3 separate regions of the Homo sapiens genome follow, and all the other regions are linked to region 1. Evidence: promoter capture Hi-C in human tissues and cell types (Jung and others, 2019). All regions are on one chromosome and are shown on one strand. The core of a region is centred on a gene start or on the middle of the fragment in contact, and the rest is flanking DNA. Distances in the headings are between cores, read along the strand shown.

The links. The method cuts DNA at HindIII sites, captures the fragments that hold promoters and counts their contacts. A contact is called where the count stands out against the background at its distance.
Region 2: a fragment that was not itself captured here is called in contact with the fragment with the promoter of SV2C in region 1 in 1 of the 25 tissues and cell types used here (small bowel).
Region 3: a contact is called between a fragment that was not itself captured here and the fragment with the promoter of SV2C in region 1, in 3 of the 25 tissues and cell types used here (adrenal gland, dorsolateral prefrontal cortex and stomach).

Annotation. Positions count from the first base shown.
Region 1 is chr5:76,081,710-76,085,038 of GRCh38, reverse strand. SV2C (synaptic vesicle glycoprotein 2C) reads right to left here and starts at 1,656. Exons shown (of 13, transcript NM_014979.4): 1 at 1,527-1,656. SV2C-AS1 (SV2C antisense RNA 1) reads left to right here and starts at 1,622. Exons shown (of 2, transcript NR_183290.1): 1 at 1,622-2,120; 2 at 2,643-3,329. RefSeq lists an enhancer at 2,292-2,845. The HindIII fragment of the contact is 16,764 bases long and covers 1-3,329 here.
Region 2 is chr5:76,028,827-76,032,155 of GRCh38, reverse strand. It overlaps a transcript of SV2C not described here. Among named protein-coding and RNA genes, the nearest start is that of SV2C, 53 kb to the left of the region's middle. The HindIII fragment of the contact is 5,569 bases long and covers 1-3,329 here.
Region 3 is chr5:76,125,118-76,128,446 of GRCh38, reverse strand. The region is part of intron 1 of SV2C (synaptic vesicle glycoprotein 2C); the gene reads right to left. Among named protein-coding and RNA genes, the nearest start is that of SV2C-AS1, 43 kb to the right of the region's middle. The HindIII fragment of the contact is 3,228 bases long and covers 231-3,329 here.

The sequences.
Region 1 (3,329 bases), core at 407-2,906:
AGCGGGAGAGGAGACCATCACGGCATCCCGGTCTCATCTCCTTAAGGCTCTCATGAGCCTTAAAAGACGCCTCATCTCCTCGGTCCCCCGGGGAGCGCCCGGTAGCTGCGGCTCCTTCCCGGCACTGCGGCGCACTGCGGAGCCGCCTGCCCGCCAGCCCAGGCCGTGCGGGGCTTTCCTCGCCGCCCCGCGCCGCCGCAGTCCTCCCGCCCCCCTCTGCCCCGCCGGGTCGCCGCTCTCCGCGCCAGGCGCGCCGCGGGGCATCCATCAACCCAGAGCTTTTGACGCACACACGCGCGCTCCCAGACGGAGACTCCGTCGCCTGCCCCCGCCCGCCACCCCCGCCCGCCCCTCGCGGGTCTGCATTTGCATCACTCGCACACGTAGAAGGTGACGCGAGCGCCCCCAGCTCAGGCCGTCCAGGCGGCACCTCTAGCCCCCGTGGCTCAGCCCCTCCCCCCGCCCCCGCGCGCCGCCTAAGGTCCCCGCACGCCCACAGATCTGCTCCCGATTGTTCATCTGCCGTGGGGTGCTGGCTGCCCCAAGCCAAGTTCATCCCCGTATTCCGCAGTCCCCGTGGGCCCAGCCCGGGGCGCTCCCCGCGACGCTCTGGAGAAAAGTCTTCCCAGTTCTAGAACCCAGGCGGAAGGGGAAAAGCCCACTAAGAGAAAGGGTCAGAGGGTCGGCTGATGGCTTTTGCTGCCCTCATCGCCATCTAAGATTACCTCGGTAGCTTATTTACTGCGATTGGTCCCTCTCCCCTCTGAGCTTCACAGCCTCGGGTCTGCTTCGCCTGGCCTGGCGCACAGCAGGCGCCCAAAAGGTTTTTGCTGAATGAAGGCGTTGTAACGTAGGAAGTGCAGGCGCTGACAAAGAGCCTCAGCCCCGCGGGCTCCCCTGCTCTCCAGCCCTCTCTTGCTCTCTCTTAGACGCCAGACAGGCGCTTCGGGAATGTATGTGGGAGAGTTTGAAAATTCATGGTGTTTCTTTCAGGCTCTCTCAGCACTTACTGCGGCTACCTCTGCTCTCCCGCCACCTGCACGTCTGCAGAGGGATCCCCGCCGAAAAGTTGAGCCTAAGGCAGCTATGAAGGTATAGGTCCAGGTACCCAGCCCGGGGCTCTAGGCTGCTAGATTTGAATCTGCCTATCCCTGCCGGTCAAACCACACAAGCAAAAAAGAGCGTGGCGGTCGCTGCAGATGCGGCCCCTGCATCCCCGCTGCTGCCCACCCACCTCCTCTGGGAATCCCAGATAAAGTGCGACCCAGTCCCCAGACCTACCCTAGCGAACCCTGGGGTCACTGCATCTATTTTACCCCTACTTTCCTGGTCCCTCTCCAACAAAGGCGCCTACAAAGCAGCGGGCACCTGCAGCCGCTTCCCCGGGGGCAGGCGGGGCAAAGTTGCGCTTCCGAAAGGCTGCAAAAACTTCCCCAGGCTGCAGCGCCCGGCCACCAGTCGGGAAGAGAAATCCAGCAGCGGGGGAAAGTCTCCCCGCGGATGCCCGCTTCACCTCCCCCACTCACCGCTCCAGCCGTCGGACACCCTTGCCCTGAGTGGTGTCAGCACTGCAGCCGCCTCAGTGCGGGCGCCGCTCCGGCTCGCTTCCCCGGGCTGCCTCCGTCTGCCACTCTCGCCTGCAGCGCGCGGAGTGGTGACTCCTCTGAGCGTGTCAGCGGCGAGAGGAGGGGCGGGAAAGTGGCTCCCGGCTTGCACGCTGCGGTCCTCCTCCTCTCCTCCGCCTGCCTCCTCCCCCTGGTGCTGCAGTGCCGGGCGGCGGCGTGGCGAGAGTACCAGCGGTGCGCAGGGAGTCACGGCGCGCGGGGGAGGCGGGACCCGCGCGCCACTCGCGGTGCTCCGGCAAGTCGCGGTGCTGAGGCGCTGCTGCGGTGTGGGACTGGGGCAGGGGGCGGGGAAGGAGAGCCACCTCCAAGTGGTAGGTACTTCTGGAGAAGTCAGGGCTCTGAGTTTGTAGCAGGTGAAGGAGAGGGGCGGCAGTCCTTAATTAGTCACCAACTGTGACTGTGCGTTGCGCACTTGGCGGCGCCCCGGGTCAGGTCCAGCGTGAGACGCGAGGGAGTTCTGACTGCTGGACTCTGTTAGCACCGGACAAAAAGAGGGTTTGTATTCTATTTCCGGGCCTGGGACTGACTTGTTCACTTCGACTTGGCTTCCAGGGAGCAACCAGGCAGAGCTAGGTTGCCTACTTCCCCCAGCCCCCACCCCGACGCTGGAAGACAAGTCCAGAGGAAACTTGGGCACAGCAAGAGCAAACAGAAGAAAACTTCGCTGGGTTAAGTCTACTGTCTCCCCAATGCTACATAGGGCCAGACAGCTGGGCTCACAGGCAGATATTGAAAGTGGCCCCTTAGAGGGGAAACAACCAAATATGAGGGGGGGGGGGTGGAGAGAGAGATAGAGAGAGAGAGAGGAGGAGGAGGAAGAAAGAAAGAAAGAAAGAAAAAGAGAAAGAAAGAAAGGAGGAGGAGGGAGAAAGAGAGAGGAGAGAAGAGAGAGAGAGAGGGAGAGAGAGAGAGAATTTTGCTTGTGTTGTTAGAAACAAACATTTCTCCCCTTGGCGTGCAGGAGAGAGAATTTTGCTTGTGTTGTCAGAAACAAACATTTCTCCCCTTGGCGTGCAGGAGACCCCAACTCGAGCTTCACTGTTCCAAAGCGGTGGGCCAGGCGGCTGGAGAGAAACTCGCTCCCGTGAGGCCACACCCAGGCCTGGCGCACCCACCCCGCGGCAGCAGTGGAGGGCGTCGCCCTCCCGGGCCTTCCGACGCAGACCCTGCCATCCGGATGCTGCGGGAAGTAGGGCATCCTCACGTCCCTGACTCCTCCGGCTCCGCGCGCTCACGGAACCCAAGTGGAGTGGGAAGCGGTCACACAGGCGTGTGCCGTCCCCGAAATCGTTGCTCCTGTGGTGGTGACCCAAAGCGAGACAAAGCGCCGCGCCAATACGGGCTGCAGTGATTGGAACTCAAACACACACATCTCTCCGCGAATGTGTTCCATCCGTGTAAATATGCCTGGGTGATTGAATGGATGGCTGAATGAACGCTGTGTGGATAGAAATATAAATGTTACATGTATAATACAGGCGCCGGGGAAGGAGAGCTGTCAGGCACCCCCAGGCTGGAGCCTCCTGCCCAGAGGAGCCGGTGGAGACAGGCGGTTCGCCCAGGGCGGTGTTGTTAGCTTGGGCTTTCCAGTTCGATTTGTGCCACTATGCAGGATACTGTGAAGAGAAGAAAATGGAGACAACTCTTGGCCTCTCATTTTCCCTCCTCTCTGGTTCAGACACTCTGGCACTAAAAGTTATGATT
Region 2 (3,329 bases), core at 432-2,931, 53 kb after region 1:
TAAAGTAACTCTGTTCTTTGAATATTCATTAGTTATCACTTAATAATCTGTGCTTATACTCCATCTCATTCAAAAGGAAAGATTTTAAAAGGCTCCTTTCAAAAATAGAAACAAATATATGTAGAGTCTTCCCATTTTAGTAGGTTTGCTTTGGGTCTTATGAACTAATGACTAAACTACCTTTCCATCTTACTCAGGCTGGGCTATGAGAATGGAATCCATATATTACCTCAGGGAACTCAAGGCAGCCAGTAAGCTTTTGGAAAGCTGAAAACCAAATATTTCGGAAAGTCCCTGGACAAGTTGCTAAACTCTTAAATCAATTCTGTGCCAGTTGTAAATAATATAGCGATAGCAGAAATATTCTTAATAACATAATTTCTAATGTCAACTAATTAATTCAAGCTGATGGTATTAGAGTATCACTCTGTCCTTTAATAAATGGGCCTCCTGTTACATTGTGACCTAGGTAATAATAAAGATATTGAATATATTAAGGTCTCAGGCAGTCTTTTATGGGCAAGATAATCCTTAATGTAATTGCTATTTGATCAATAGAGGGTTTGAGAGGGTTAAGCACCTCCATCAGGAAGTGCAATTTCTTAGTTACTGAACCTACAAGCCACTTGATGATGCTGCCCAACTGCAGAGTCAGGTAACTGGGCCTGGGAGCAGCCCCTGGCAGGCACCGAGTGGATCAAGGTAACAGCAGCAAGAAGGGGTGTGTAGGTCTTGCCTACTGCTCCAGCGACAGCCAGCATTGCCGTGTGACAGCCCAGTCAGAGGGATTGGTGATATGGGCAGTGGATGCCATTATTGGCAGGGTCTGGGATACAGACCCTCTGAGTGCATATCATGTGGAAAGCACTGGCATCAGGTGTGTAGCTGGCTGTGATGAGCAGGCAACATGCCCACTGACACTGGCTGTAATGAGAGTCAGAAGCCAGGGACCAAATGATGATCAGTTTGGTAGGGAAGTTGTGGGAGAGTCTGATGCAATCCCTTCACCAAACTGTGACTTGGAGGCATTATTTCATCTGTGACAGTTAGATCAAACAAAAGATCATACCTGCAATATTTAAAATTCATCACATCTTTTCAAAAATATCATGATATGCTGATGAATATTTTGCACCATTTATATTGCTTGGTAATCCATTGTATGCTCTATTGTTTAGTTGATTTCGAGAACAGAAAAAAATTGTTGAAATATTTGATTTATGTATTAATTTATATTATCATACTTATTATTAACTATTGTTAGGTATTTTGAATATCACCCCTGGAGAGGCCCCAGATTGTAGCCAGCAAAATATTCAGTGGCTACTCTCCACTCCAGAGGGAGGCACAAACCTTTCTTTTTTCTTTTTTTTCTTTTTCTTTCTTTTTTTTTTGAGACAGAGTCCCACTCTGTTGCCCAGGCTGGAGTGCAGTGGCACGATCTCAGCTCACTGCAGCCTCCGGGGAGGCACATTTCTAAGCTAGACTGCCCTGAGAGAGACAGAATACGGCTGCCAACCACATGGATGGTGCTTCTTACAATTGTGCAAAGTGATAGCTCCAAACCATATACATATCATGAACACATCTTTTCTTAATACAGATGACGTCACTATTAGAGCAAATCAGCATTACTTACTTCTATAGGTCCCTTTCATTGCTAGGGTAATAGTTCCCAGATGGCATCTAACTCTGTGAATCCTTGATCTGTTACTTTTAGAATATTCTGTGACCAGTGAGTCTGTGAAGTGCTCAATACGCCCTTTCTTCTCCAAAAGATTTCTGGATGTGTGGGCAAATAATTCTTATTCCCTACACAAATGAGATGGAAACTTTTCCAAAAAGAACTTTACAGGAATAAATAAAAAAAAAAAAAAAAAAAAAAAAAACAAGCCTCTGACCAAAGCATTCTGTCTTGTAGGAAAATTATTAAACCAAACCAAAATGTGTAAATATTTACACATTTTGTCAAGGAGTCCCTTGACAGTGGCATATATTAAGAAATAAAGCCTTTGTTAGTTACTCAGAATTTACTGGAATTTAAAAAAATAAATAGGTAATCATTAAAATCCTTCTATTTAAAGTGGTTTCCCTGACCCTTCAATGCTATGAAGTACCCACCATAGAAACCGGGGTCTGCAGTCACCTGGATCGAAATCTGCCTCTGAAATCGAAAGGCTCCATTCAATAAGTTCTGAAAAGAGGAACTGAAGCAGAGACAGAACCTACTTCAAGAACTTGCTCTGATTACAGAATCTGGTCAATGGCTGTACCCAGAGCTCTTACTAAAAGATGCCAGACTGAGGTCCAAGCTGACATTCTGCTGATTTTTATTCCAAAGTAAACATCGCCACGGTAAATGGTATTGTAATGGACAGTTGCAGGTTAAGCTGAATGTTTTTAAAGCAAATTCTTGGATCTGTAGAAGAGCCAAATATTTGTTTACTTGTCCCTGAAATTACACATGCTGGCTGAATAGGGTGGATAAAAATGGCTAGAGACTTTCTAATAAGTGTAAAAATAATAAGTGTAAATTTTTGCCTCAAATACTTCTTAGTACTGTAGTCTGATTTAGTACTGTAGTCTGAATTTTTGCCTCAAATACTTCTTAGTACTGTAGGGCTTTCTCAGATTTTGGTTGAGGAATCACTGTGGTGTTTGTTAAAATGCAGATGACTGTATCCCACCTCATGTCTATTCAATGACTCTCTGGGAGTGGGATTGAGAATCTGTGTTTTAACGAAAACTCTACTGATCATTAAGAACAGAGAGGTTAGGGGGTTGGGGAGATGGTCAAAGAACACAACATTTTCAGTTAGGTAGAAGGAATATATTCAAGAGATCTATTGTATGACATGGTGACTATAGTTAACAACAATGTATTGTATTTTTGAAAATTGTAAGAGGATAGATGTTTGGTGTTCTCACCAGAAAAATAACTGTGTGAGGTAGTGCATATGTTAGTTAGTTATATTTAGTCAATCTACAATGTATACATACTTTAAAATATCAAATTGTGCATAATAACTACATACAATTTTTTCTGGCAATTTAAAAATCATGAAGTTTGAGAACACTTGTTCTATAAGACAGGATGGGTGGTATTCATTCATTTATGTTGCTCATTCATTTGTTCACTCCACAGCCACTTACTTATTGCATTCTCCTGAGTGCTGGGGTTATAGACATGAATAAAATACGGTTTCTGTTCTCTGGCAGCTCAAGGTCTAGATTTAATCTGCAACTATACTTCTCAGCTAGAGGCATTATTGCCCCTCAGGAGACATTTGGCAATTTCTGGGAAACATTTTTGGTTGTCACAACTGAGA
Region 3 (3,329 bases), core at 595-3,094, 43 kb before region 1:
CTTCCTAGTCATTCCAGTATTCCAGTAACTTTTTTTCCTACACTAAAATTGTTTTATAACCGCTTCTCTAAATTGTCTTCTACATTCTGAAGTAAAGAGAATTGTTGTGAGACCTTTAATCAGTGACGAGCTTTATATGGGTAATAATTTTAAAATGTGGTCTTGTTTGTTCCAATAAACTACCCTAGGATGGTGGCTGTACTTCAAAAGATAATGTAACCCTGTTAAATAAGACATCAGTGGGCCAGGACGGCAGGAAAGTAGGCAAAGCAATGAAACTCTAACAATCTCTAAGTACATGATGCTCCTCGTTTACTCAAGTCAGTTTCCTTCTCCACGAAATAAGGGTAATAATAACCACCTTCCAGTGTTGTGAGAATTAAATGAGTTGTTTACCCCGGTTTTAGGACAGAATCTGACATATATTCAGTGGTTTCAATTCAGTTTCCCCAGGAACAGACCTAGCCATAAGGAGTCAGCTGCAAATCATTTATTAAAGAGTAAGGGAGTCAGGGAGCAGGGCGGGAGGGAGCGATGGAAGCAGGGCGGCAATTTTAGGTATTCTACCGTGGAGCAAGCTTCAGGAGGAACTCTGGAGTATAAATTATGCCTCGGAATTTTTCCCCACTCGGGCAAAGGTGCTAGGCTTTCATAACCCCATGCCAACTGTTGGCTGAGGGGTCCTGGGGGCAATGGTGGAATGTAGGAGCTTCCTGTTCTCCGCACCAAAAGGCAAGGCAGTTCCACTAGCCTGAAGGCAATCCTCTGAAGGTGCTGGCCGAGGAAGGCAAAGGCACACTGAAGCCAAGTGGGGAGAGCACAGAGATGATGAAAGGGGTCCAGGGACCCAGGGCATTAGCAGTATCTCCTGTAAAACCACTTGATAAATATTTGTTTAGATGCCCTACTCATCATGCTAAGCTGCAGGATACATAGCCGATTGAAACTGCATTTATAGAAGCGGCTGTTAAACCAAACAACGTTCACAGCGAAGTGAATCTGATATAGTCAATGACATGCACAATCATTGTGTGTGATATTTTGCACAAATATGTAAAATATAAAGAATAATTATACACACGGGCATTATTCTGGCAAAACACAGTTTTTCTTCTTTTTGCTCCTTTGATGGTTCATGACAAACACACATATCCAATACCACTACATACTATTTTAAAACTTTCCTACACAAGCTCCCACCCTACACAACCCCCAACACACAGATGTTTCTCTTGGTGTTTCCCCACACCGCCCAAACATGCAGTCTTCCCTTTGCTTTACTCCTCATCACCACCATCAATCAAAAGATCTTGGATAGCTCCGCCTCCCCCAAATGTTCTAGAATCTTCTGGATGCTGGGAGAGTCCATTCTTCTAACAATTGTATTTATGCAGCTTTAAAACCATTGTGCCCTGATAGAGTAATGATAGCAATAATAATGGCTAATCCGTTATTATGTCAGCCATGTGCCACGCACTTCAGATGCATTATCACACAATAATGCTCACAAACATTGTATGGGGTAGGTACTTTTAAAAATGCCCACTTCACAGATAAGAAAACTGAAACCTGGCCAGTAACAATGCGACCCTATGCAATGCTACTCCAGAGCCCAACCACATACCCACTACATCTGCCACGTTTTTGTGGAAATGGGAGCCTGTGATGGAAACAGGGATCTGAAACAGCATGGGTGTGTAGAAGGCAGCCCCCATGCCAGCAGACTCGGGCTCTTCTAAAGTACTTGCAGATATGTAGTGTGCTGGGATTGGGCAGAGGGGCTCATAACATCCCTCTTCCTCTCTTAAGCTTGGATCTAGAAGAGACATTCAACACAGAAGACAAATGGTGAACTACCTGCCAGCTGACTGGACAACTGTGTCCAACTTTATCCCTGATGCCACACCTCCCTCCCAAGTCAGGCATGCTGGGCTACAAAGGACTCCTTCTGGAGTGGGGTGGGGTTGAGAGGGGAGCTTTCCAAGAAGCTTTCCGCACTGAGCACATCTTTGAGATGAAGAAATGGAAACTGACCCATCATCCCAGCCTGTCCAAATCCCTGACATTAAGTGTTTATTATTTAGAGACACCTCTTGCCCTCCAACCCTGTAAACTACCTGTATGCCTACATTCTCATTCTTTAAGGTGCAGTGCAAAAATCACGGTTCAAAAATCACTTCTTTCATGAAACGATTTCCTTTCTTTATTGCTTAGCCTAATCACATCTTGCAAGTTAAGTGTAGCTGGTTTCCTCCTGGCATTCAATCACATTTTCCATTATGCTCACCAATACATGTGATGGCCTTCCCTATTACAGTGTAACTTTCCTGAAAACAGGAAACTAGTAAAAAGGAACACCATAAAGTAATGTTATTGGGTTTTTTGTTTGTTTTTTGAGACAGGGCCTCACTCTCCCACCCAGGCAGCAGTGGCATGATCATGACTCACTGCAGCCTCAGCTTCCCAAGCTCAAGCGACCCTCCCACCTCAGCCTCCCAAGTAGCTGGGACTACAGGTGTGCACCACCATGCCAGGCTAACATTTTATTTTTTGTAGAGATGAAGTCTTTTTATGTTTCCAAGGCTGGTCTAGAACTTCTGTGCTCAAGCAGTCCTCCTACCTCAGCCTCCCAAAGTGCTGGGATTACAGGTGTGAGCCACTGCACCTGGCCTTAATGTTATTAAATGAGGACTCAAGCACCATAAGGGGTCAACTCTTAGTTCCTCCACTTTCTTTATCAGGCAGTTGTCTGGATCAGTAGTCCCCCAAGGTGCAATCTGCACCTTGTGGTCCTATAAAGTACTCTGACTTTATATGACTTTATATGCTCTCACACTTACTTCATGTGGAGTATGAGTAGGAGGGTTACAGTACAAAGCCTGTTATAAGGAACCTTGCTTAAATTTGTTACCCAATCATTTCCAAACTTTCCTAATAACAGAATTCCCCACCCTCAGCATGACACCAGTGAGCAGTTCTCATTATACATTTTATGGAAATACTGTATTAAGATGAACACTAAAATCCTTTAAATTCTAATGTCTCTATTATAAAATACCATAACACTAATTAGAATTAATTGAAAGAAGCAGGATAAAAGGCAGAAAATCTACATTAAAATAATATTTCTAAAATAAAATACAGTATTTCTTTCAAGTGTATCAAAAACTGAAACTAAGTTTTCCAAATGTAATTGCTTATGATTTTTAAACAGACTTGCTATAAAAATAGAAAGTATTTAGCATATCTGTGTATTTTTAAAGCAATAAGTCATTCAAAGAGCCTGGAAATTTTAATTTTAAGTATATTAACGTTCATTTTTATGCAAT